Regions from separate parts of the Homo sapiens genome. Here regions 2, 3 and 4 are each linked to region 1. The links are contacts of gene promoters, found by promoter capture Hi-C in human tissues and cell types (Jung and others, 2019). All regions are on one chromosome and are shown on one strand. The core of a region is centred on a gene start or on the middle of the fragment in contact, and the rest is flanking DNA. Distances in the headings are between cores, read along the strand shown. Region 1 holds the start of SH3GL2 (SH3 domain containing GRB2 like 2, endophilin A1). Region 2 has its middle 240 kb from the start of SH3GL2. Region 3 overlaps SH3GL2 (SH3 domain containing GRB2 like 2, endophilin A1). Region 4 overlaps SH3GL2 (SH3 domain containing GRB2 like 2, endophilin A1).

Region 1 (5,755 bases), core at 1,608-4,107:
GTTCGAGACCAGCCTGGTTAACATGGCTAAACCCTGTCTCTACTAAAAATACAAAAATTAGCTGAGCGTGGTAGTGCATGCCTATAATCCCAGCTACTCAGGAGGCTGAGGCAGGAGAATCGCCTGAACACAGGAGGCAGAGGTTGCAGTATGCTGAGATCACGCCATTGCACTCCTGCCTGGGCGACAAGAGTCAAACTTTGTCTCAAATGAATAAATAAATAAACAAACAAACAAACCCAGGCTATATTATCCAGCACATCAGTTCTCAAAAGGAAGTAATTCTAGGTCTAAAGCTTCTCTGTAGATAACATCAGGTTCACGGACCTGATGGAAAAAAATGGCTACAAAAGTAGGACAGGACTATTTCTCTAATTTTTTTGTCACATGCAAACATTAACATGGGCTTTACATACTCTCCTAAATATACATATGCACAGAACAGTCACCTGTGCCTTAGACTTTCTAAGAGTGTGCTACACTAAATTATGGATAAGAGACTACGTGCTGCTTCACCTTTCAAATAAAAGGCTTTTCAGTAAAAGGAAGACAATGACGCAGTGATTCTGCATTTGGATTCGGTGTGATAAACATTAACCGTATCGCATCACATGCCGACCTTCTCCAACCTTTTAAGTTCTTTCCTAACGCAGTTTAAATTATTTTTTCTACACTTTAGGGCGACACAGAACTTCAAGATTTAGCGGAAATGGAGCGCTCTATTTTTTAAGTTGGAAAAACTAAAAGGTCTAGCTTGGGTAACTTCTTCACAGCATAAGGGATAGTATTTTATACTAATAAAAATATCCTTTATGTCAATAACTATAATTTATTGAACACTTTATACGTGTGTTCTACACACTCGTTTCTCTTCACCTCAACCCTGAAGAGACAACGGAAATTATCATCACTTCAGCATGGACAGGTTCAGAAGTTAAATACTCTCTCAAGGTCAGAAGCAGCAGAGGCAGGATTCAAACCTTAGCCTTTCCCACTCCAAAGCCAAGACTCTTAATTGCCTTTGAGGGCACTAAGCTTTGCAAAAGAAATCTTTAGAATCCAAGTGGAAAAAAGATGTGTTGGTAAACGCAGTGCTGAGATATGCTATAGAGAAGTGACCAGTAGAGCAATCAAAAAGGTTAGTAATATCGAAGAAGTCCTGCCACAGAATTCCTGGGCAGCACATATGCTTGGTTCTGTAAACCTGAAAGAACTTGCAGTATAAAGTTATTAGAAGCCTTCCAAACTACATCAACAAACAAATCACTTACTTTCATAAACATGTCTGGCAGAGAGGTCACAGATAACTCCAATTATAATAGAAAAGCAAAAATAATTACATTAAGAAACATTTTTACAGAAATAGTCTTACTTTTCTTGATTTCCTAAGTTGACAGGTATAATTGATTCTATAAAGGCAAGAATGTGTGATGAAGATGATGCAGATGCGTGCAAACACACACACGACGGGAATTACATGCTGCATCTGTCACCCTAAGTTAACCAAGGTTCTGTAAAACACAACCCTCACCTTTTCTGGATGTGGTTCATAACAAGGCTGCCACTGTGGTAGCCTAGGAAAAACCTCACTACTTCCGAGAAATTATGAGAAAGCTCGTTAATTAAGGCTAACCTATGAAAAACTATTTAACACCAAATCATGAAAAACATTTCGCGGTAAGTCATCAAAATCCTTAAAGATCCCATAAATTTGAACCTATTTCAGAAGGATAAAAAAGTAGTAATCACACACATTATGTAAGAAATAGGTCACAGCGTAAGTATTCGCTTACTTGCCCCTATGTAAAATTCTTTGAGTCCAATGATTTTAATTATTAGAATCTAAATTAATCAGTTTTATTACAGTCACAGCTTATTAACCCCATAAAGAAAAATGGGCACATCCAAGATGCCAAAGATTTATTAAAAACAATTTAAAATACATGATGATTTTAAGTCTTCAACAATTTGGTTGTTTTAGGGAAATATTTAAGACCCGCAGACTGTTTGTCATGCCCTGGCCTCAAAGGAGTTTCACGACCGAGTTCTCCAGGTAAAAGTTAATGTATGCGGGTCCCTAAAGGAAGACCCCAGCCTTCCATTCCCCTGGAGCCTGCGGGCGGCGGGGAAGGAGGGTTCTGACAACAGGGTAAGGGAGAGGAGCGCAAACCGCCGGCCTCCGCCCCGCCACCCCCAGTGCGGCCACCGCTCATGCCAACACATCCCGGGAAAGCCGGGTGCACCGACTCCGCAAGGTCACCCGTGAAGAGGCGACTTTACATAATCTCCCACCGCGCCGCCAAGGCACCTGCGCGCCGCGGCAGCAGTGCAGCCGCGGTCCCCTTCCTGCAGCACGGGCGCGAGATGATGCGGGGGCGGCGAGCAGCGCTACCAGGCAGGACGCCGGGGACCCGCGGGAAGGCAGCGCGCACCAAGCCGGGGGCGGGGGACCGAGGGTGGACGCCCAGACCGGGGATGCCCCGAGCCGCCGCCTTGGCTTGCGAGGCGGGGCGCGGCCGGCGCGGGCGAGGCTCGGTGCCGAACTCCCCAAGCTGCCGCCGGACGGCCAGCGCCGAGCGCGCCCCTCGCAGCTTCGCCCCGGACTGCCCCGGGACGCACCTGCCGCGCGCCTTACCTGAGTGGCTTTATGGAACTGCTTCTTGAGGCCGGCCACCGACATGGTGCAGGAGGCCGCGCTGGCGGCTGCTGTGCGGGAGGGAGGAGGCGGAGGGGGACTGGAGGGCCGAGCGGGGCGGCGCGCTCCCCTGGCCGCCTCTGGTCGTGCCGCCGCCGGGGCTATGGGCGCGAGGGCGCGGAGCCTAGCGGGACACGGGCTCTTGCGGAGAAACACTCTGACGTCAAGGGCGGGTGATGCGGCCTCTTAAAGGGGACGCGGGAAGCCCCGCCCCAAGCGCGGGAACGCCCAGGCAGGTGCTGTGGCGCGCGGTACCTGGATGCTGGCGCCAACTGCGGGGATGTGGCTCAGCGGCACCCGCTGGCGGATCCCTAGTCAGCGGGCCGAGGACGTCCTCCTGTCCCGGGGTTGGTGTTCCTGCCCCCGGGGGCTGCGGACGGGTCGCTGCAGATTGGCAGCCCAGGCACCCGCAGGACTCAGGTGACTTGCTGGGCTTCCAGGTAGCCGCGGCGGCGCTGCCTGCAGACGGCCCTCCTGCCCTTTGAGCCTGGCGTCTCTGCGCCGCAGCCTGAAAAAGACTGGCCTTCTATCTGGGCTAATGAATAAGTCATTGCTCCTTCTATGCCTTGCCCTGACTGGTGGGTCACAGAAAACATTTCTCTGCCCTGGTTTCAATATCCCTTAAGCCCATCTTACCTTAGGGAAAGTCACACACGCGTTTTCCCCCTTGTCTGATACAATTTAATGACTTAAAAAGAAGAACAGGAACCCTTAAGCCTGGACGGATAAATAGAATTGAAGTCTTACTACAAAACTAGCGTTCAATCCTCTGGTTACAGAAATGAAAAAGCCCAAATGTGATCTTGTTGTTATGCTTGTGGATTTAGGGTTTCCGGTCCGATAAAAATCAAAATATAATGTGAAAAAGCATGATACTAAGTTATATACAGATGCTTCATATGTAACCAAGGAGGTATGGCTGGCTAAAGTGAAACTAATAGATGACTTGGGAGCAGAGCAGCACTAAATGCCTTCTGTGCTCTGGTACTTAACCAAGTCTGGTTTTTCTAGGACTGAGGAGGTGGTCAGAAAGAACTTAGACGCTGTCCCCGTATGTGGACCAAAGTGATAAGAAGGAGAAGCCAAGATGGGAGAAATTGCCAAGGATGTGTAGAGACTGCAAGGCCAAATGGGAGTCCTAGAAATACTTTTTCTGTCTCCGCAACTCCTGCAGCCTGATAGGAGCCACAGACCCATCCCCACTCTTCTAGGCACTGCGGCTTGGGCACAGGGTGAACACCTGCTACAAAAGGGTCCTCCATCCGTAGAGCTACCAGTCATGGTCCTTCTTGATAATGTGAACTGACACACACAAAGGCAGAGTCAAGCAGTGGTGGGCACTGGAGCAGTAGAGCGCATGGACTAGGGACGCAGGCTGCAAAGGGAGGCAGATGAAAGGAGCTATTCTCCAGTGTGGTAGCCCTTACCACTGTTCATATACCTTTCCCTACATGGCAGAATTGCACTTTCCAAACCTCTTGTTAAGTGGAGGCATGGTTACAAGTTTTGACTAGAGGTTTAAGAGGAAAAGTGACTGTCACTTCTGCAGCAGCAATATGAGATGTATGAGATGCCGCAAAGCTTTCTTTTCCTCGGCCGCAATATTCTAGAAAGCTGTGGTCTGTCAGCCAGTATCCAGAGTGAGACTAAAGCAGTGCAGAGTCCCCACCTGACGTTCAATGGGCATGTAGCATCAGTGAGAAACCTGAGTAATTTTAATCCACTGAGGCTCCGGTTGTTAGGAATAAACTTTTTTCTCTATGTTTCCAATTTTTAAAAAGGCTACCCATTACTTGCATAATAGAAAAAAAAGTATTTTATAGTTAATTTTTACTACCAGGTCCCTGATCTGAACAATAAAGCATTTTCATAAGACAGGGCTTTGTTGAAGCTGCCAAAAGATAGAGCAATTGATCTACAAAGTGGAAGGGCCTGGGATGGATAGGAGCTCTGCTCTCTAACAGTGAAAGGTGTGAAATGGGGGCCTGAATTGCCTCCTTGGAACTTTGAATACTTAACTGAGCCCTACATTATAAAAAAGGCAGTTTCTATCTTTCCCTGGTTCTTCATCCACCAACCTGGAAGTCTCATGCTGCTTAACTTCAAAGAAACTACCTTGGGAGAAAAAAACTACTTAAGGGCATTACATTAAATCCTTTGGAAACCATTGATTTAGTCGCCCAGGCATCCTCTGCACCTCATCTTATATGGTTTGGCTGTGTCCCCACCCAAATCTCATCTTGAATTGTAACTCTCACAATTCCCACGTGTCGTGGGAGGAACCCAGTGGGAGTGATTGAATTATGGGGGTGGGTCTTTCCTACACTGTTCTCGTGGTAGTGAATGAGTCTTACAAGATCTGATGGTTTTAAAAACAGGAGTGTCTAGTTCAACCATTGTGGAAGTCAGTGTGGCGATTCCTCAGGGATCTAGAACTAGAAATACCATTTGACCCAGCCATCCCATTACTGGGTATATACCCAAAGGACTATAAATCATGCTGCTATAAAGACACATGCACACGTATGTTTATTGCGGCATTATTCACAATAGCAAAGACTTGGAACCAACCCAAATGTCCAACAATGATAGACTGGATTAAGAAAATGTGGCACATATACACCATGGAATACTATGCAGCCATAAAAAATGATGAGTTCATGTCCTTTGTAGGGACATGGATGAAATTGGAAATCATCATTCTCAGTAAACTATCGCAAGAACAAAAAACCAAACACCGCATATTCTCACTCATAGGTGGGAATTGAACAATGAGATCACATGGACACAGGAAGGGGAACATCACACTCTGGGGACTGTTGTGGGGTGGGGGGAGGGGGGAGGGATAGCACTGGGAGATAAACCTAATGCTAGATGACGAGTTAATGGGTGCAGCACACCAGCATGGCACATGTATACATATGTAACTAACCTGCACAATGTGCACATGTACCCTAAAACTTAAAATATAATAATAAAAGAAAAAAAAAACAAACAGGAGTTTCCCTGCACAAGCTCTCTTCTCTTGTCTGCTGCCATGTGAGAGGTGCCTTTCACCTT
Region 2 (5,755 bases), core at 1,796-4,295, 240 kb before region 1:
GGTGTGTGATGTTCCCCTCCCTGTGTCCATGTGTTCTCATTGTTCGACCATTGTGGAAGACAGTGTGGAGATTCCTCAAGGACCTAGAACCAGAAATACCATTTGATCCAGCAATCCCATTACTGGGTATATACCCAAAGGATTATAAATCATTCTACTATAAAGGCACATGCACACATATGTATATTTGCAGCACTGCTCACAATAGCAAAGGCTTGGAGCCAACCCAAACGCCCATCAATGATAGACTGGATAAGGAAAATGTGGCACCTATACACCATGGAATACTATGCAGCCATAAAAAAGGATGAGTTGATGTCCTTTGCAGGGACATGGATGAAGCTGGAAACCATCATTCCCAGCAAACTAACACAAGAACAGAAAACCAAACTGCATATTCTCACTCACAAGTAGGAAACCAGATTTATAAACTTCAAAAGATGACTAAGAATAAAAGGTAATACATGTATTCTATAAGTGATCAGAAAACAGAGAGTACTTCGCTTGATCAGGTATTTAGAGAATGGGCCTAAAGAAGAGTTGGGATACAGAAGGTGAACATGGAGAAAGGCACAACATGGCATGATGCAGTTCTCAAATCTGGCTGACCATCAGAAAGACCTGGTAACTTTGGAAATTACAGATTTCTAACGGCCAACCAGAAAGCTCTCCAGGTGTTTGCAATGATTAGCCAGGTTTGGGTAGCCACAGGTTAAAACAAGTTTAATACATGCTGACTGATTCAATAACTGTGCAACAACATTTGGCTGTTTCCACATAATTTATTCCTATAAAGCATATTTCATAAAAAACTATACCCAGTGCATTATGAATACAACACCAACTATGGTAATAATTGATTAGATGATATAAATTCTTTCTCTTATTTACAAGAATGTAAGTTCAGGAACAACACCGTGTTTATGAAAAAGTCAGATGAAGGCAGAATTCTTTCCTGCTTATTTTCTGGTGGCATATTTTTCCTCTTTTTTTGTCTCTGTTAGCTCCCACCACTCTGGCAGCACTGGGGACTTCTTAGATGGTGAGCTGACTCAACAGGCTTCTTCAGGTGAATGAGGATCTCTTGCTTATAAAGCTTCTGCATCATTCAGCCCTTTCTCTTTCATGGAATACCTTTCCTTGGATTTTCTCCTCTTCCCTCTGAAGGGTAAACTTCAGAGACCTGAGATTTCAGTGTGGGCCTGGGTAAACAGAGTCCAGGAAGTCTTTCCTTTTGCTATGGAACCAGACCTTAGGCTACTGCACTCCAGGGGAGAGAGACTCTCAGAGTCCATGGAAGCTGGCTAAGCCAGACACTGGGTTAGGCCCCAGCAGGCCCTTTACCCATCCTTATCCTCTCCTGTCTCAGTTTCAGGGGGATCAGAGCTGGGGCAAGATGGGGTCTGAAGTTCCTGGGTACCCTAATCACCTATAAATCTTTCTCCACAAGATGCAAGTCCCACAGTGTTTCCTAAAAGCTTAGATGTTAAAGACTTGAAAACACATAGAAACCTTAAGCATCATAATTAAATCACTTAAACATAGTTACTTTCAGAGCAACTTGGTATAGTAGAGTAACTGTAAAGAGCTGAAAAACAGCTGTGGACCAAGACAATTTCACTGTAGCACATGCTAAAATAACTGAAGCATGATAAAATGTTTTCATTATTTTGGAATCAAAAACGCTTGTTAACTAATTTATAACTATCCTAGAAATAAGGTTTTTATATTTTTGTTTTTGCCAACAGAGGTCCCATTCAGGAACTCTCCACAGCCCATCTGTAGCCGTAAGTTATCTGCAAGTTACTCAGGAAATACAAGGATGCTCATCATGAAAAGACATTTCTCCCAAGCTCTCTTCCTTTGGTTTCCATCCATACGGAGACTGGGCCTGAGTGTGGAAACTATCTCCATCAGCTTTCTGTTCTTGAATACTCTTATGAGTTTGCTTGTTTTGGGGTTTGCTTATTTGAAACTTAAGTTGCTATTACGAGCGTTTCAATGGTGATGATGATGATGAATATAAGTTTAAAATAAAACAAAGCAGAATAAACAAAATAACACACTGGTAACCTGCTTGTTCTGTACTGAATTTCATATAGATGCCCATGATTCCACACAATAAATTGTTGCATGTTTCCTGAACATGCATTCCTTCATGCTGCCTTTGGCCTACCTATTCCCACAGCCTGAAAATCATGTTAACTATTGGATGAAAGAGTTGAATTAGAGGACAATGGTGCTTTGGCCCTTTATTAGAGCTCTGGGAGGCTGGGCTGAATCTGCAGAGTGCATTTGGAGGCACAAGTCTTTGTCTCACACCCACTGAAAGAGACTGTTAACCATGAATCTGTTCTTTCCAGCCATGCCTGCATAGATAAGAAAATATTCTTAGTCCTCCACCTTTAAAATGCAGATTATGCTAGTGGTAAACTTTCTCAGAGATGACTGAAATATTTTTTAGAAAGCAGCATATGGAAGCATATGGAGTCAGCCTTCAGTGAAAGAAAGCCAAACCACAGCTTGATCCATTTATCCACTGATTCATTCATAAATTAGTTCATTCACCAAGATTTATGGATAAATCAGCAGTCCACGTTCTGAGTTAGGTTCTAGCAGTACAACAAGGAATGATGCATGCTGCTTTCTCCCACCTAGTTCACAATCTGGCAAGAGAGAGAAACACCAAACAACAAACCATAGTACAACACAGCAACCACCATAAAGAAAATGCTTCTGCTATACCGTAATACCGTCTCCCAATGTATACGTGCGTGCGCGCGCGCACACACACACACACACACACACACACACACACACACACACACACACACACCCCACCCCAGATCAGTCAGTATGACCAATCTAGGCAAAATGGCTGGGCAGCACACACTCATGGAGAAGTTTTTTAGTGGTTTTGTGCTTTTCCACATTTCCTATGCTTCCTTAATCCTTAAATAAGAAACCCAACTCCGGTTTCCCTTAGACACCTCTCTCATCCCACGTCAGGTCTCACTTTCCTCAAAGTGGTCAATGAAGTGCTCCTGGCTCCACAGATGTCTTTTTTTTTTTTTTTTTTTTTTTTTTTGCTTGCCCACTGGGAGCTTCCTTTGGTAGCTGCTGCTGATTTTTGTCCACCACTATTTTCCTCTTCTGTAGTTGATGGAAAAGCCTTCTTTTTACACCAGTCTTTGGGGCTATTTATTAGGCTGCAGGACCGGCATATGCCCCTGGTTGTATTTTAGTCTGCCCTCTTGAGGAAAACTTAGGTCCAACTTTCCTGGGATCTTCACGTAAGACACTGGAATGGTACCACCTGTACCCAGTTTTACATTCAAAATAGCTTTTCCCCAGATCCTGAACTAGATTATGCCATCCTGGTTGTCAGGAGGATGTCTCTGCCTGTTCAGAGGACTTCAGTCAGAAGCAGGCATTAACTGTGGTTCCCCCCCGATATTGTGTAAGAGTCTTAATCCAGGTATCAAAGGGTCTGACTGTACACTTATCTATCAATCAATCATCTAACTGCCTACATTTTTTTTCACTCTTTCTCTCATGAAAAGAGCATTCTTTTACACCCCTGAGCTCCCATGGTAGCATTTAGATTAGCCTCTTCCCCCTGCAGATATAGGACCAAGCAGGTGTTTGCAGATGTTCCACCCTTCTGAGTCCAAAGCAGCATCAGAACAAAGCTGAACCCATACAGTTTCTTATATTTGTAGTTTTCTTAATTCAGAGTGTATAGAAATTCCTAGTGACCCTTGAAACTTTTCAGAGTGAAGGGAAAATGTTCCACTTGCTCTTTATTTTTATACCAGAACTCCTAAACCATTAAATTGCACAAGGGAGAAGGGAAAGGTAAGACAAATCTGAGTTCTTTATTTAGCACATATGTGAATAGAACTTTACAACATGTAGAGCAAATTAATTACATTTCATCTTATTATCTAAAACATGTTACATCTACGATTAATGTCAGAAATGAGAAGTGCTCTTGATAGGAGAGGAGGTAATTTGATTTATCCTCTGTGGTGAATTGAGGCATAGCCCATGGTTTATAAAGTGAGGCATCCCCAAACTTCATCTTAGTGAAAAAGGACTTTTTTTTTAAGTCTTCTCAGAATTCTTATGGGAATTCTAACAACCATCAGGAGGTGCTTGAGAACCAGCAAAGGCAAAAACAAAATCTTTGGGTCTTTACTCAGTGGACAATGCATAAGCATGAATTATACCTCTGGTATATTACTAAGCCCTGAAACATTACAGAATGTAAGCAAAACTTGATCCTCAAGTAGTCTCGAGTGGAAGACATAGATTCATATTATTATACATAGAAAAAGCTTAAAGGAGTCCCTGACACATAGAAATCCCTTAATAACAGCTTTAGTTATTAGCTTCTGCACTATAATAGACGCACATGATATTTTGTTTTGTTTTTAGATTCAGAGGGTAAAGGCAGGTTTGTTACATGGGTGTATTGCAAGATGCTGAGGTTTGGGCTTCTAATGATCCTGTTGCTGTTGCCCAAGTAGTAAATGAGGTATCCATTAGGTAGTTCTTCAACCCTTGCCTGCCTCCCTCTTCCTTTTCAGAATACCCAGTGCCTATTGTTCCCATCTCTGTGTCCCTGCATACCGAGTATTTAGCTCCCACTCACAAGTAGGAAAATACAGTATCTATTTCTGTTCTGCCTTAATTTGCTTAGGATAATGGCATGTGAAGTTTTAGAAACTGCTATGACCTCATAGAGAGGAAATGACATGGGGAAGTGGTATAAGATCTTACAGAGGAGGTGCTTTGAGCTGAGCATTGGAGGATCTGTAAGGAGTTTCCTAGGGAAAAAAGAAAGAGCATTCCAAACAGAAGCAACAGCACAGAGAAGAGCAAAGCCTTGAATTCACATTGGTACTAAAGGAATCCTGAGGGTGTATATTGTCCATAGAACAGAGGGTTGAAAGATGGGATGGGAGAAGATGCAAATTTAAAAGGCAATTGGGCCCAGATGATGAAGGACTTTAATGTTCAGGCTTTATTCTGTACACAATAGGGGCAAAATTTTGGAGAAGAACAGTGATGTTATCAAACCTACGATTTCAAAAGATCACAACAGGAGTTTCTAAAAAAGAAGGACTGGGTAAGACAGGTGGCGGGTGCAGGGACTGCAATTAGGAGGCTCTTGTGGAAATAAGGAAGATAGGAGGAGGGGACCCAAAACAGGCAGGGAGCAGCAGAGAAGGTGAGAGACTCAGGAACACTGAAGGACAAGCTTTTCCTTTTTTTTTTCTTTTTTCTTTTGGAGACAGTGTCTCGCTCTGTCACCCAGGCTGGAGTACAGTGGCATGATCTCGGCTCACTGCAACCTCTGCCTCCCAGGTTCAAGCAATTTTCCTGCCTCAGCCTCCCAAGTAGCTGGGACTACAGGTGCATGCCACCACGCCCGGCTAATTTTTTGTATTTTTAGTAGAGACGGGGTTTCACCGTGTTGCCCAGGCTGGTCTTGAACTCCTGAGCTCGGGAAATCTGCCTTCCTCAGCCTCCTAAAGTTCTAGGATTACAGACGTGAGCCACCATGCCTGGCCAGGACAGGCTTTTTCATTATGAATTGCTGCACAAATATTCTTCCCAAAGTATTGGGCATAATTTTTAATGAGGTTCATGTCTATACATTGGGAGTTCTTTTTGATAAAAGAAGTAACTAGATTATTTTTTAATTTTTATTTTTAGATGGAGTCTCGCTCTGTTGCCCAGGCTGGAG
Region 3 (5,755 bases), core at 816-3,315, 220 kb before region 1:
TGGGAGGGACCAGGTGGGAGGTAATTGGTAATTGAATCATGGGGGTGGGTTTTCCCATGCTGTTCTCGTGATAGTGAATAAGTCTCATGAGATCTGATGGTTTCATAAAAGGCAATTTCCCTGCACATGCTCTCTTGCCTGTCACCATATAAGACGTACATTTGTTCCTCCTTCACCTTCCACCATGATTGTGAGGCCTCCCCAGCCAAGTGGAACTGCGAGTCCATTAAACCTCTTCCTTTATAAATTACCCAGTCTCGGGTATTTCTTCATAGCAGTATGAAAATGGACTAACAGAAACTTAGTATATTTAATTACAACTATTCATGTTAGATTAGAAAATCTGGACTATTGGCCTCAGCACAAAATAATAGAAATGGCCCCTAATACACAAAGAACATGTTTATTTTCCTGGGAACTCAGAAAATACACATTTTGTGTGCCTTGCTGCTCCCCTATTCCCACTCACACCCCAAACATATACATCAAGAGAAAATAATACTGGCCTTTTTTTTTTTTTTTTTTTTTTTTTTGGAGGCAGCATCTTACTCTGTCACCCTAGGCTGGAGTGCTGTGGCGTGATCTCGGCTTACTGCAACCTCTGCCTCCCAGGTTCAAGTGATTCTCGTGCCTCAGTCTTCTGAGTAGCTGAGACTACAGGCATGCACCACCATGCCCAGCTGATTTTTGTATTTTTAGCAGAGACGAGATTTTTCCATGTTGGCCAGGCTGGTCTCGAACTCCTGACCTCAGTTGATCCACCTGCACTGGCCTCTCAAAGTGCTGGGATTACAGGTGTGAGCCACTGCACCTGGCCTAATAGTGACTTTCGATCAAACTATTTTTCCATGTCTATTTCTTTATCTTCAATTACGAAAGAAAATAAGAGGCTACTCGAAGGGATATATTTTATTTCCCCTTCCTAACATTATATTCTTCAGATGATACCACTTTTAACAATATATCATTTAACATCTATGAGACCTAATTCTCCTTACTTTCTTCTCTCCCAAATTCTCCTCCTTCCTGGGGTTACCAGGAAGGTCCCAATGTCCAGGCTAGCTACTTCCTTGCTGCTGAAACTTTTCCTATGTGTAAAGAGGTAGATATGAAGTTGGAGCCAGGTCTTGTTTGGCTGCATGAGAAAGCAATGGAGACTGAAACCAGCCCCCATCCACCCAGTGTTAGACCCAAAGAACTGACACAAAATGAAGGAGCAGAGCCTTTGGTTCTGTCTTCAGCAATATTTATTGGAAACAGCGATGCTTCCTGTGGTGAGAGTTTATACATTAAGCAGTAAGATTTGCCTTTCACTCCACATGATCCACTACTGCAGGTGGCACATCGGAAGCAGCACGTTAAACCTCTGAAAGAGTCTGTACAGCTAGATAAATAGAACTCTGCATACCTAACAGGACTTTCATGACTGATACAAATAAAAAAACACACTGATAAGCTTACACACAGCACTGTACACACAAAATGAAGACGATGGATAGAAAGGGCAGAAGTAAAAGTAGCGACTGAATTGGGAAAGAGTTTTGCATATGCAGCCATATACCTTAAACTGCTAAGCACAAAAATCATCTTTATTTGGTCCTCATTGAGGGCAGAATCTGCACAAATGATGTTCAAAGAACACAGGGTAAAAGTGGAAAGGAAAGGTATTTACTGTTTCTCAGTATATGAACTAGTGGAAAGATGGTTACTAGTGTTTTCTTCCTTGTGTCTCTGTGCCAAATGGATTCATGAAACATGTAATTCACAAATAAAACTGAAGTGAAGATATTTGTTCCCCCTTCCCTGTGCCCTTCAGAAATAGCCTAAATACATACATAGTTTCTGTATAGCAAGAAATTTAAGCTTGGATACCAGATTTCTTCCCAATTCCTCATAATGGAGAATTTCTTTTCAGTCCCTCTCACAATAATGCTGATTAACTGTCTTACTGAAAAATAATTTGGAATTACCGCTCTGGCTTTAATAGCAAGGAGGGAAGAAAACTGGCTATACGTCAGAAATAGCCATAAGTGTGAGGAGCTGAGATGCCTATTTGCAGAGAATGCTTTGAACCCACAATTAACACTTTTCTATGGATGCATTAAGAGACAAATTCATTCAGATCAGGAGACAATTTGCTGGTGAGGGAAGGCTTACTTTGACAATTCCATGACTCACATATTTGGGAAGGGACAGTGTGAAAGCAAAAGCTTTCTCCTCTTTGCATGGAGAAATGCAAAGAGACCTTCAGATGGCCCCTGGGGTGATAGACAATATCTTCGGTGGGATGGTTTTTCTGTGAAATGGCTCATGGTCATATTCTAAGAAACCACAGCCTCCTGAGAACTGTGTAAACAGCAGTTCTGTGACTACTGGCTGGTCTCAGATGATGTTTTAAAAAGCACATGCCACGCCCACCAGGCTAAGAGGATATCATCCATCACCATGACTCCTGTGGGAGCCCACAAGTCAACCAAAGTCACTTGGTGGGGCTGGATGACGTGGACCACTGCGGCCTGCACTTGGGATGTGTTATAAGCAGCATTGCCAAAGCAGTGGTTAACCGTAACTATCTGGGTCAAGAGGAGGCGAGCCAGCCAGCATAACATCCTAATGGGGCAGGGCAACCAGAATTTCCACATAATTGATGGGGAAGAAGCCTGAATGGCCATGCAGCATCCCCTCATACCAGTTCTCATCAATTTGGTTAGTGAGTGTGATGATATCGCCCTCTTTAAATCCCAACTCCCCTTCATTTTCAGGTTCAAAGTCGTACAGAGCTCGGCAGCAGGGCTGATCCATTTGGACACCTGGGAGTAAGAGCAGGAGAGAAGAGAAGAACACAAAAGGATAAGGGGTATTTAACTCACAGAATCTGCTGCCTGCTGTACCCACCTGGCTTGCTGCTCCCCGTCTTTCCTCCCTCATTCCTCTTCCTGTTGAAGCTTCTTCTTGCTACTGGACCTTAGTGTCCACTGCACTGGGCATCTTGCCCTCTACCAATCCTCAGAAGCTTTCTCGGACCTTTGGAAGTTGCTGCATATTCCTGTTTCTGTTTCCAGTATGAAAAACAGTCACATCTATTCTTGTGATACATACAACACAGTTCATTATAGTTTGCCTTCGTGATAATGCCCAGAAATAGGAGGGACAATGACTTAAGAAGAATATAATGATGTAGGTTAATAACACAGCATGGCAAGAATTCTCTCATCTGAGCACTTTAAAACCTTTGCATATCTGAAAAAGTATGGTGAATTACATGGAGAATGCTTTTAAGTAACAGTTCGGTTATCACTCTTTAAAATGATAACCCCAGCCTCTGGAAAACTGCTGTAATGTGGTGAAAACGGAATAATATAAAACACTGAGTTCAAGTTTTTACTTTCTGTGACCTTGCACATGGTACTTCGCTCTCAGTTTCACTGTCTGAAATTGGATGTAACAGTAGGACTTACTTCACATTACTACTGTGGCTACTAAATGAGATTATGTAAAAAATTTTGTAATTTATACTTGGTAAGGTAAACTGTTGCATACATAAATATATGCAGTGCACTGGAGCTATGGCATACAAAAATAATGTACTCCACCTTGAGTAAAATAATGAAGGATGAAATCATATCTTAAGAGGGATCTATTCCAAATGACCCGCTGTATTAATACTACATACATACACATGTAGATACAGACTCAGACAAGTGCACACAGTTCCCATGCCATCTAGGTGGCTGGAAAGGAAACAATGTAATTTATTTTTTTATTTAGAGAAAGAAGCAAATTACTGAGTCTCCAGATGAAAAGTGAAATATATGGTTGGTTTTCAGACAGGGAGAAGCATAGCTATACACAATTTCTGTGACTAGTCCTGGTGGCCAGCTCCAGGAGCCACAGCTGCTTATGTCATGCCCTGAAGTGCTGAGCGCAAAGGACAGAGAGCACCACCTGCCGGCTCAGACCTCGCTTTTTTTCTTAATAAGTCTCCTGAGAGCATCTTATAAAAAGTTTTCTACAGTAGAACATCAAGCACTGGGGATACAGGAAAAATAAAAGAAAGCTACCTATCTCTAACATCCACATCCAGTATAAGACAGTTCCCACTTCAAACAAGCAAATGTGGAGGTTGAAAATGTCTCCAGCACAGGCTGTTGTGTAATCTGCGTGTAGGAGTGGAGAGCAAGTGTGACAAGGTAAAGAATGCTCTATTTGGTATGCATCGATATTCCTGAGATAAAATGTCATCTAGCTTTTATTATATCAACCCCAGTGCCACAGCATGATAAAGTGATCAGAGGTGAGGCATGGGAAGGAAAACCCAGCAAGTGTCGAGTTTCAAAATATCATCTTCTACAAATATATTTAACCATATGCTTCTGTGACTCAAGAAATCCAGCTCATCAGCACATTTCTGGAGCCGCTTGCTGTCTGTGGGTTATATGCGAATGCATGTGGGGACACACTGTCCAGGGGCATTCACTGTCATACAGGCTGGATTCAGAGCGAACACGCAGGAGAAAAGATGACACTCGCAGACCAAACTGACAAGGAAAGGCGATTTACGACCACAAAGGAGGGTCAAAACAAAATGTGTTCGTGTGTGCTGATGATTGACAGAGAAAATGGGATATACAAAGAAAGTTTTATAGAGAAGAATGAGAAGGAAGGAAAGAAAAGGTAAATGAAAAAAAGACAAAAGGATTCCTTTAACAGAGTTTCTACCTGACAACTGACTCCATAAGAAATGTATTACTGCATATTTCCTATGCAGCCAGATTGGACTATTCCTAAAATTTCTGGAAGAGTGCCAATGGATATGCCAAGGGCTATGCAATAGGATCTGCAGTTTCAGCTCTTACCTGAAGGTTTGGGAGTGCCTGTGTGGGAGAGACCCCCATTGGGCTGAGTACTGTCTCCAGTTGGAAACTCCAGGCTCATTCGTGGTTTAGGTTGATATTCCCTTCTAGGCTGAGATGAAGCCTGTCTTATTCTGCAGTAAAAAGAAAAGTGGTGGAAAGGTTATGTAACCAGTTAAGAAGTAAAATGAAAAGCAAATATAAAGATTCAGGAAATGCTTGGGTCACCCACCATGCTACCATGATGAAGTGTGGGAAATCAAAAAAGGACCCTTAGTTTTCTTGTATGTATATGTCTGAGATTTTGGTGATGTCCCTTTATGGGGCCATGTCCTCACTGTCTTCATTCTCTCTCTCAATCCCTCACTTCCTCTCTCATTTATTCAGAGTCCTTTATCCAAATACGCACTGTGCTAGGTACCAGGAACACAAAAATGAATTAAAACACAGTTCTTGTACACAAAGGATAAATGCTTGAGGGGATGCATACCCCATTCTCCATGATATGATTATTATGCATTGCATGCCTCTATCAAAACACCTCATGTATCTCATAAATATATACACCTATGTACCCACAATTTTTTCAATTTTAAAAAAGACACAAACAGATTATGGTCTGTAAGGGAGACAGAACACAAACAACTGATTACTATAAATTTTAGTAAGCACTGTCAGAGATATCTACAAAGTGCCACAGGAACACAGGGGTGTGGTTGTGGGTGAAGGTGGGAAGGAGTCTATCTCTCCATAAGGAAGCTGGAGGAGGTTTAAGGAGAGAACTAAAAGATACACAGGAGCTGTTTCCAGATGAAAATGTGAAAGGGAGCTATTCTATTCAGAACATGAGAAGGTTTGGACAGAGGGAAGGAGGAAATATACTGTGTGCTCTTAGAAGAATG
Region 4 (5,755 bases), core at 1,837-4,336, 190 kb before region 1:
AGGAAGATTTGCCTACTGACTTACACAAATAGACAACCCTAGCACTGGATCGTGCTACTCTCAACCCAAATAATGGTATTTATATAACACCTCTCTCCAAGGTGACAAAGCTCTCTTATGCCTCAAGTAGGAAACAGCAGGGAGGGATATTAAGACCCTGTGCTGTAGTACACAGTCAGCAGCCCTAAGAACTTGTGACATGGGGCAGCAAACATCTCCCACCTCAAGATTGGGTGCTGCAAGGTGCCAACACAGGTCTCACAGAGTGCCCTGGCAAAGCAGGCAACTGTCCCCCTCAGGGGCATAAAACAGTTTGTGAAATCTGAAAAATACACAACCCTCAGTGTACTAACATCATCAGCCTTTGCTTTCTCAGGTTTTCAGAGCAAATAGAGGGTGGTGGTAAATAATATATCCTTATTGTAAGAAGGGTCCTGCAGTGGGATTTCTAAAGACCTTGCCCAGGGAGGAACTGCTGGGTTAGCATCTGAGATGCCCTAGGTTGAGCTGCAGTACCCCAGGAAAGGAAGGTGCATAATATTTCTTGAGTCCCTACTAAGTGTCAGGCACTGTGCCAAGTGTTCTTTGCTATCATGTTTCAAAACACAAAGATATCTTCAGTCTTTGGTGGAACTGGACTGACCTATACTCCCTGGGGGGTTCAGGAGACCTCATCTTAAGCTGAAAAGACAGTGACAGGTGTTCCCAATCTACCTCCTACTTCAATGTAAGGTATCCAAGGAGCCTAAAGCCACAGGGCAAATAGCCTGATGGCCCCAGCAGACAGTTGTATGCTTGAAATAGGAGCTCTGGCTGGGAACAGCCACACTGTATTAGTTTTCTACATAGAATAACAAAGTACCACAAACTCAGTGGCTTCAAACAACACACATTACCTCACAGTTTCTGCAAGTAAGTCTGGGCATGCCTAAATTGAGTCCTATGCTCAGGGTCTCGCCAGGCTGCAAACAATGTAGAGTCAGACTGCTTTGCCATGTGGAGGCCAGAGAGGGGAGAAGTCTGCATCCAGGCTCACGTGGGTTGCTGTCTTCCTGAGTCCGGGCTGTTCACTTCTCTGTGGCAGTGTGATTGAGAGCTCTGGCTTCCCGCTGGCTGTTGGCCAGTGGCCACCCTTAGGTTCTAGAGACTACCCCCAGTTCCTTGACATGTGGTCCTCTCCTTGGGCTGTCATAACATGGCAGTGTGCTTCTTCTAGACAAGGAAGGGAATGTCTCTCGTATTAGTCTGCTAAGACTGTCTCACATAATGTGACTTGGTCATGGGAGTGATGCACCATCGATTTGGCCATATAATGTAATCACTATCAAGGGAGTGGTGAGTAGTTGATTCCATTACCTTTGCCATATTTATTGGTTAGCAGCAAGTCACAGGTTCCATCTACACCCAACGGGAAGGGATTATATAAGGGTGTGAACCTGTACAAGTCACCCTAGAGTACACTTGCCACACTTACCAAGCCTGGAGGTATCTTTGTAGTTTAAGACTTTGTAGCATAAGACATTTTTTTTTGAAAACAGAATGTGCCTTGGAGATAGTAATATCTGAATAAAGATTCTGGCTGTTCTGTTGTATAGTTCGGGCAAATTGCTAATCACCTTGCAGCTTCAGTTTTCTCATTCAAAAATAGATACAACTATTATCTATGTATATAAACACAAATGTCTATTAATAGCTTCAGCCCAGTGATTTTATACATGACAGTATGCACATCCACACTTTTCCCAAAGCAATTGTGAAATATACTAATTGTACATGACACCAAATAGATATTACACAGAGAACAGCTCTGATACTGATCTGTAAAAGTCTGCAGACCACGACACTTACCTGAAAAGTTAGCTACTCCCGTAAGATGGAGCTTATGTATGCTTCACATGATTTGATTCATTCATTAAGCAAATTAATCAATCGCTAGCACCAAACTCTGTGCTAGGAACTGGGTATATATAAAGGAGTAAAAGAGACATAGTCCTTGTCTTCAATGACTATGTTTACAATATACTGGAAGAGATGAACAGCATTCATTCAATAAATATTTACTGAGGGCACTACTTCCATTATTACGAATAGTAAATAAGACAGACAAGATTCTACCCTTCTGGAGATTACGTTCTATATGAGAAATGGGAGTGATGTGAAAACAATAAACAAAAAGATAAATTAGAAGATAATTCCAAATGTTGATAGGAAATAATATAAGGAGGTATGAGAGGGATGAGGAGAAACTATTTTCAATAGGGGTCGGGGCAGGAAAGGACTGTACAGGGAGACGGCATCTGACTGAAGGTGGAGTGATGAGGAGCAGCAGACATTAACAGGAGCTGGAGAAGAGTGTTCCAGGCAGAAGAAACACCTGTGCAAAGACCCCGAGGCAGGAACAAGTCTGAGGATAATTCTCAGTGCAATGGAAGCCAGTGGAGAGTTACAAGCAGAGGAGTGACAAGATGTGAATTACATCTTTAATGGATGGAACTGGCTGCTATGTGAAGAATGTAAAATAGGAGAGTAATAATGGAAAAAGGCAGTATAGTGAACAAATCATAAGTTGCATAAAGTAAATATTATGAAAAGTGCAATAAAAGAATAGAATTGGGCTCTTTGCAGTGTACAAACAATCCTGTGCTCAAGTCACTGCGTCACTGCATTTCGGTAGCAGTGACAAGCAACACTTTAACAAGTAAATGTACATCTGAAGTGGTGCTAAATGCTCTGAAGAAAAGTAAAACAAGAAAAGGCTTAGGAAGTTAGAAGGGCTGATGTTTTAAACAAGATGGTCAGGAAAGCTGCACAAATTAGGTGACATTTGAGCAGAGACCCCAGCGAAGGCTTTGAGAAGACATGGAGAGGAAGTGATTGAAGCAAAGGGGCTGGCCAGGCCCCATGAACAATAGTGCCTGTGTGTTTGAGGAAGGCTAGCTCAGAAGGAGCGAGATGGAGACAGCCAGGAACATAAGGAATGAGCTCAGATCCTCAGGACTTTGTAACCCACATAAGTGCTTTCAATTTTATTCTAAGTGAGGAACTTCTCAAGAGATTTGTTGAGGGGAACTCATGTGATATAAAGGTAGCATGAAAATATAAAACTGGAGTAGAAATGATTTCGACTTGGCCCTCAGAAGACACCACTCAGAGTCGAGATACATAAGCTGAGACAGGAGGGATGGTGAGAAGACAGTTGTCGAAGAAGGGGCAGATGAGGGCCCATATTCTACCAGGAGAAGGGGAAACAGCCGCTACAAACTCCTGATACAGCAAAGAACTTGAGGAATTGAAGAAACTAAAGGCCACAGAGTGAACAAGAGGGAGAAGGAACTAGGAGAGACAGAAAGCACAGGGGCCACCACATGCTGGATCTTAAAGGCCATGCTGAGGATTTAGGTATGGTATTTATTTATAGTATTTAGGGACTATTCACGTGAGGTGCCATTAACTTAATTCTCAATATACATGTACACATGCATTTTAAATGTATACTATATTTGTTATGATTAAGAATCTGGTGTTTTTTTTTTTTTTTTTTTTTGAGACAGAGTCCCGCTCTGTCGCCCAGGCTGCAGTGCAGTGGCATGATCCTGGCTCACTGCAAGCTCCGCCTCCCAGGTTCATGCCATTCTCCTGCCTCAGCCTCCCAAGTAGCTGGGATTACAGGTGCCCACCACCAACAGCAGCTACTTTTTTGTATTTTTAGTAGAGACAGAGTTTCACTGTGTTAGCCAGGATGGTCTCTATCCCCTGATCTCGTGATCCGCCCACCTCGGCCTCCCAAAGTGCTGGGATTATAGGCGTGAGCTACTGTGCCCAGCCCTGATTAAGAATCTTTTAAGCAAGATCTGGCTTTAGCATTCATTGTTTAGACACACAAGTAAAGAATATCATTATTCCACCAGTTCTAGCTGACTTAAAAGTCTAAATCACTTACAGTGTCTCACATATTTCAGGAACCTATTTTCAATATTTTCCCCAAAGATGTAGAAGTAGAAACCCTCCAGCCTTTCAATACATTAGTATATGAATTATATCACCCATCACCTGACTTAAGTTTTCTTTCTTAATATATTTATCCTTGAAATACCCTATTCCTTTGAAGCTTAACAACATTTTCCTCACAACTGCTTTTGTAATCTGTCCTTTATGCATTTTGATTATTTTTCATTGCCAGGATGTGGAAATGGAAAAGCTCTGGCTACTAGACTCAGCACACATCCCTTATTCTTTAAGTGAAGGATGGATATATTCATTCATACACCTATTCACCAGACATACTGAGAGCAAACAATGTACCAGGCATAATGCTAAGGACTCTAAAAGATGCAAAGATGAATACAAGCTATCCTGTCCTCCAGGAAAAAACAGTAAATTCAGTGTGTTGTGAGACCAAGGATTTGTCTACATGAATGCCAAGTAATACATGTATTCATTTTCAGTTCCACAGTCACCAAATATAATCACTGTATTTATTCATCTTTGGAAGGACATGATTAAGAGCACAGCCTGTGGGAAAAGAAGTACACTAATTTTAATAGAGTATCTTTCCAGGGACTAATGGTACATTTTGAAACTAATACAGCTAGCTTTTATTTCCACAGGCAATATTTCACAAATGAGATTTGAAATTATTAAAAAATTCTAAATAGACATCGAATGACCCCAATTTGATACCCAAATCTCAGAAATGCTGGAAAAATCTAGACCATATAGGCATTCAAGGGAAAAGCATTTCCATAGAGAAACAAACCCCTACTGTGTACAACATTTTTCACATTCAAGCTGCTTTTTATGTAAGCAGTTTGGAAATTTGTATTAGATTATCACATCAGGGTAAGAGTAACTTCTCAGTGCAAACTGAAAAGGCCTCTCTCATAACAAGGATGCTAAGTCTGGAAAAGGTCCACAGTCCAACTGTCTACAATTCCATTCAAGTGTCATGAAACAGACTTTCAGAATTTTTTTTAAAAAATCCAGAGCCTAAATATATCCTAATTCTAAATCAAGAATCCATTTCTCTATTGAAAAGAAAAACCCACTGATAAAACATAAAACCAAGGAGGTAAACATGAAACATATATCGAACAGAAAGGCAAACTATCTAGTGCTGTACCGTCTATTACGGGCACCACTGGCCACAGCGGGCTGCTGAGCACCTGAAATGTGGCTAGTCCAAATTGAAATGTGCTGTAAGTATAAAATACAGACCGAAATCCAGAGTATGAAAAAAAACATAGAATATCTCAATAATTTTTAATAGTGGTTAATATTTTGGCTATAATGGGTTAAATAAAATATATTATTAAAGACAATTTCATCTTTCTCTTTACTTGTATAATGTGGTTTCTAGAAAATTCAAAATTACATATGTGGCTTGCATCCTATTTCTATTGGACAACATCGATTCAGTTTTTGCTCCCCCGTAAGGCATCAGAATATGTAAAGAAAACTGAGTTATATCTTCTTCAGTGATTTTTGCTCACAAATATCGTAAGAATAGGCACTTACAACCAGTAGAATGGAATTTGTGCACAGTACTTTCTATATTCAAATTATATCTTATTTAAGCATTTTAGGAATGTGTACTGGTTCATGCTATTGCAGTTCAAGCTTGGATGACTTTACAGCTGTCTGTCCTGCGTTCTCGAAAGCCCACCCTCACAGGGCAGACGTTTAAGCCTGTGATCCCGCTCACACTTCCACATCTCATCAGTTAGCTGGATTTTCCAGGAGGAATTAGCTGTGAAGC

What was found. The method cuts DNA at HindIII sites, captures the fragments that hold promoters and counts their contacts. A contact is called where the count stands out against the background at its distance.
Region 2: a contact is called between a fragment that was not itself captured here and the fragment with the promoter of SH3GL2 in region 1, in 3 of the 25 tissues and cell types used here (H1 embryonic stem cells, dorsolateral prefrontal cortex and thymus).
Region 3: a contact is called between a fragment that was not itself captured here and the fragment with the promoter of SH3GL2 in region 1, in 3 of the 25 tissues and cell types used here (H1 embryonic stem cells, dorsolateral prefrontal cortex and mesenchymal stem cells).
Region 4: a fragment that was not itself captured here is called in contact with the fragment with the promoter of SH3GL2 in region 1 in 2 of the 25 tissues and cell types used here (H1 embryonic stem cells and hippocampus).

What each region holds. Positions count from the first base shown.
Region 1 is chr9:17,576,168-17,581,922 of GRCh38, reverse strand. It overlaps SH3GL2 (SH3 domain containing GRB2 like 2, endophilin A1), which reads right to left and starts at 2,857. Exons shown (of 9, transcript NM_003026.5): 1 at 2,636-2,857. The coding sequence starts at 2,680. RefSeq lists a silencer at 3,847-4,045. The HindIII fragment of the contact is 4,711 bases long and covers 667-5,377 here.
Region 2 is chr9:17,813,421-17,819,175 of GRCh38, reverse strand. No RefSeq gene overlaps it. Among named protein-coding and RNA genes, the nearest start is that of SH3GL2, 240 kb to the right of the region's middle. The HindIII fragment of the contact is 3,516 bases long and covers 1,288-4,803 here.
Region 3 is chr9:17,792,599-17,798,353 of GRCh38, reverse strand. It overlaps SH3GL2 (SH3 domain containing GRB2 like 2, endophilin A1), which reads right to left. Exons shown (of 9, transcript NM_003026.5): 8 at 4,857-4,987; 9 at 1,230-2,810. The coding sequence ends at 2,611. Among named protein-coding and RNA genes, the nearest start is that of SH3GL2, 220 kb to the right of the region's middle. The HindIII fragment of the contact is 5,161 bases long and covers 1-4,645 here.
Region 4 is chr9:17,766,160-17,771,914 of GRCh38, reverse strand. All of the region lies in intron 3 of SH3GL2 (SH3 domain containing GRB2 like 2, endophilin A1), which reads right to left. Among named protein-coding and RNA genes, the nearest start is that of SH3GL2, 190 kb to the right of the region's middle. The HindIII fragment of the contact is 3,552 bases long and covers 1,311-4,862 here.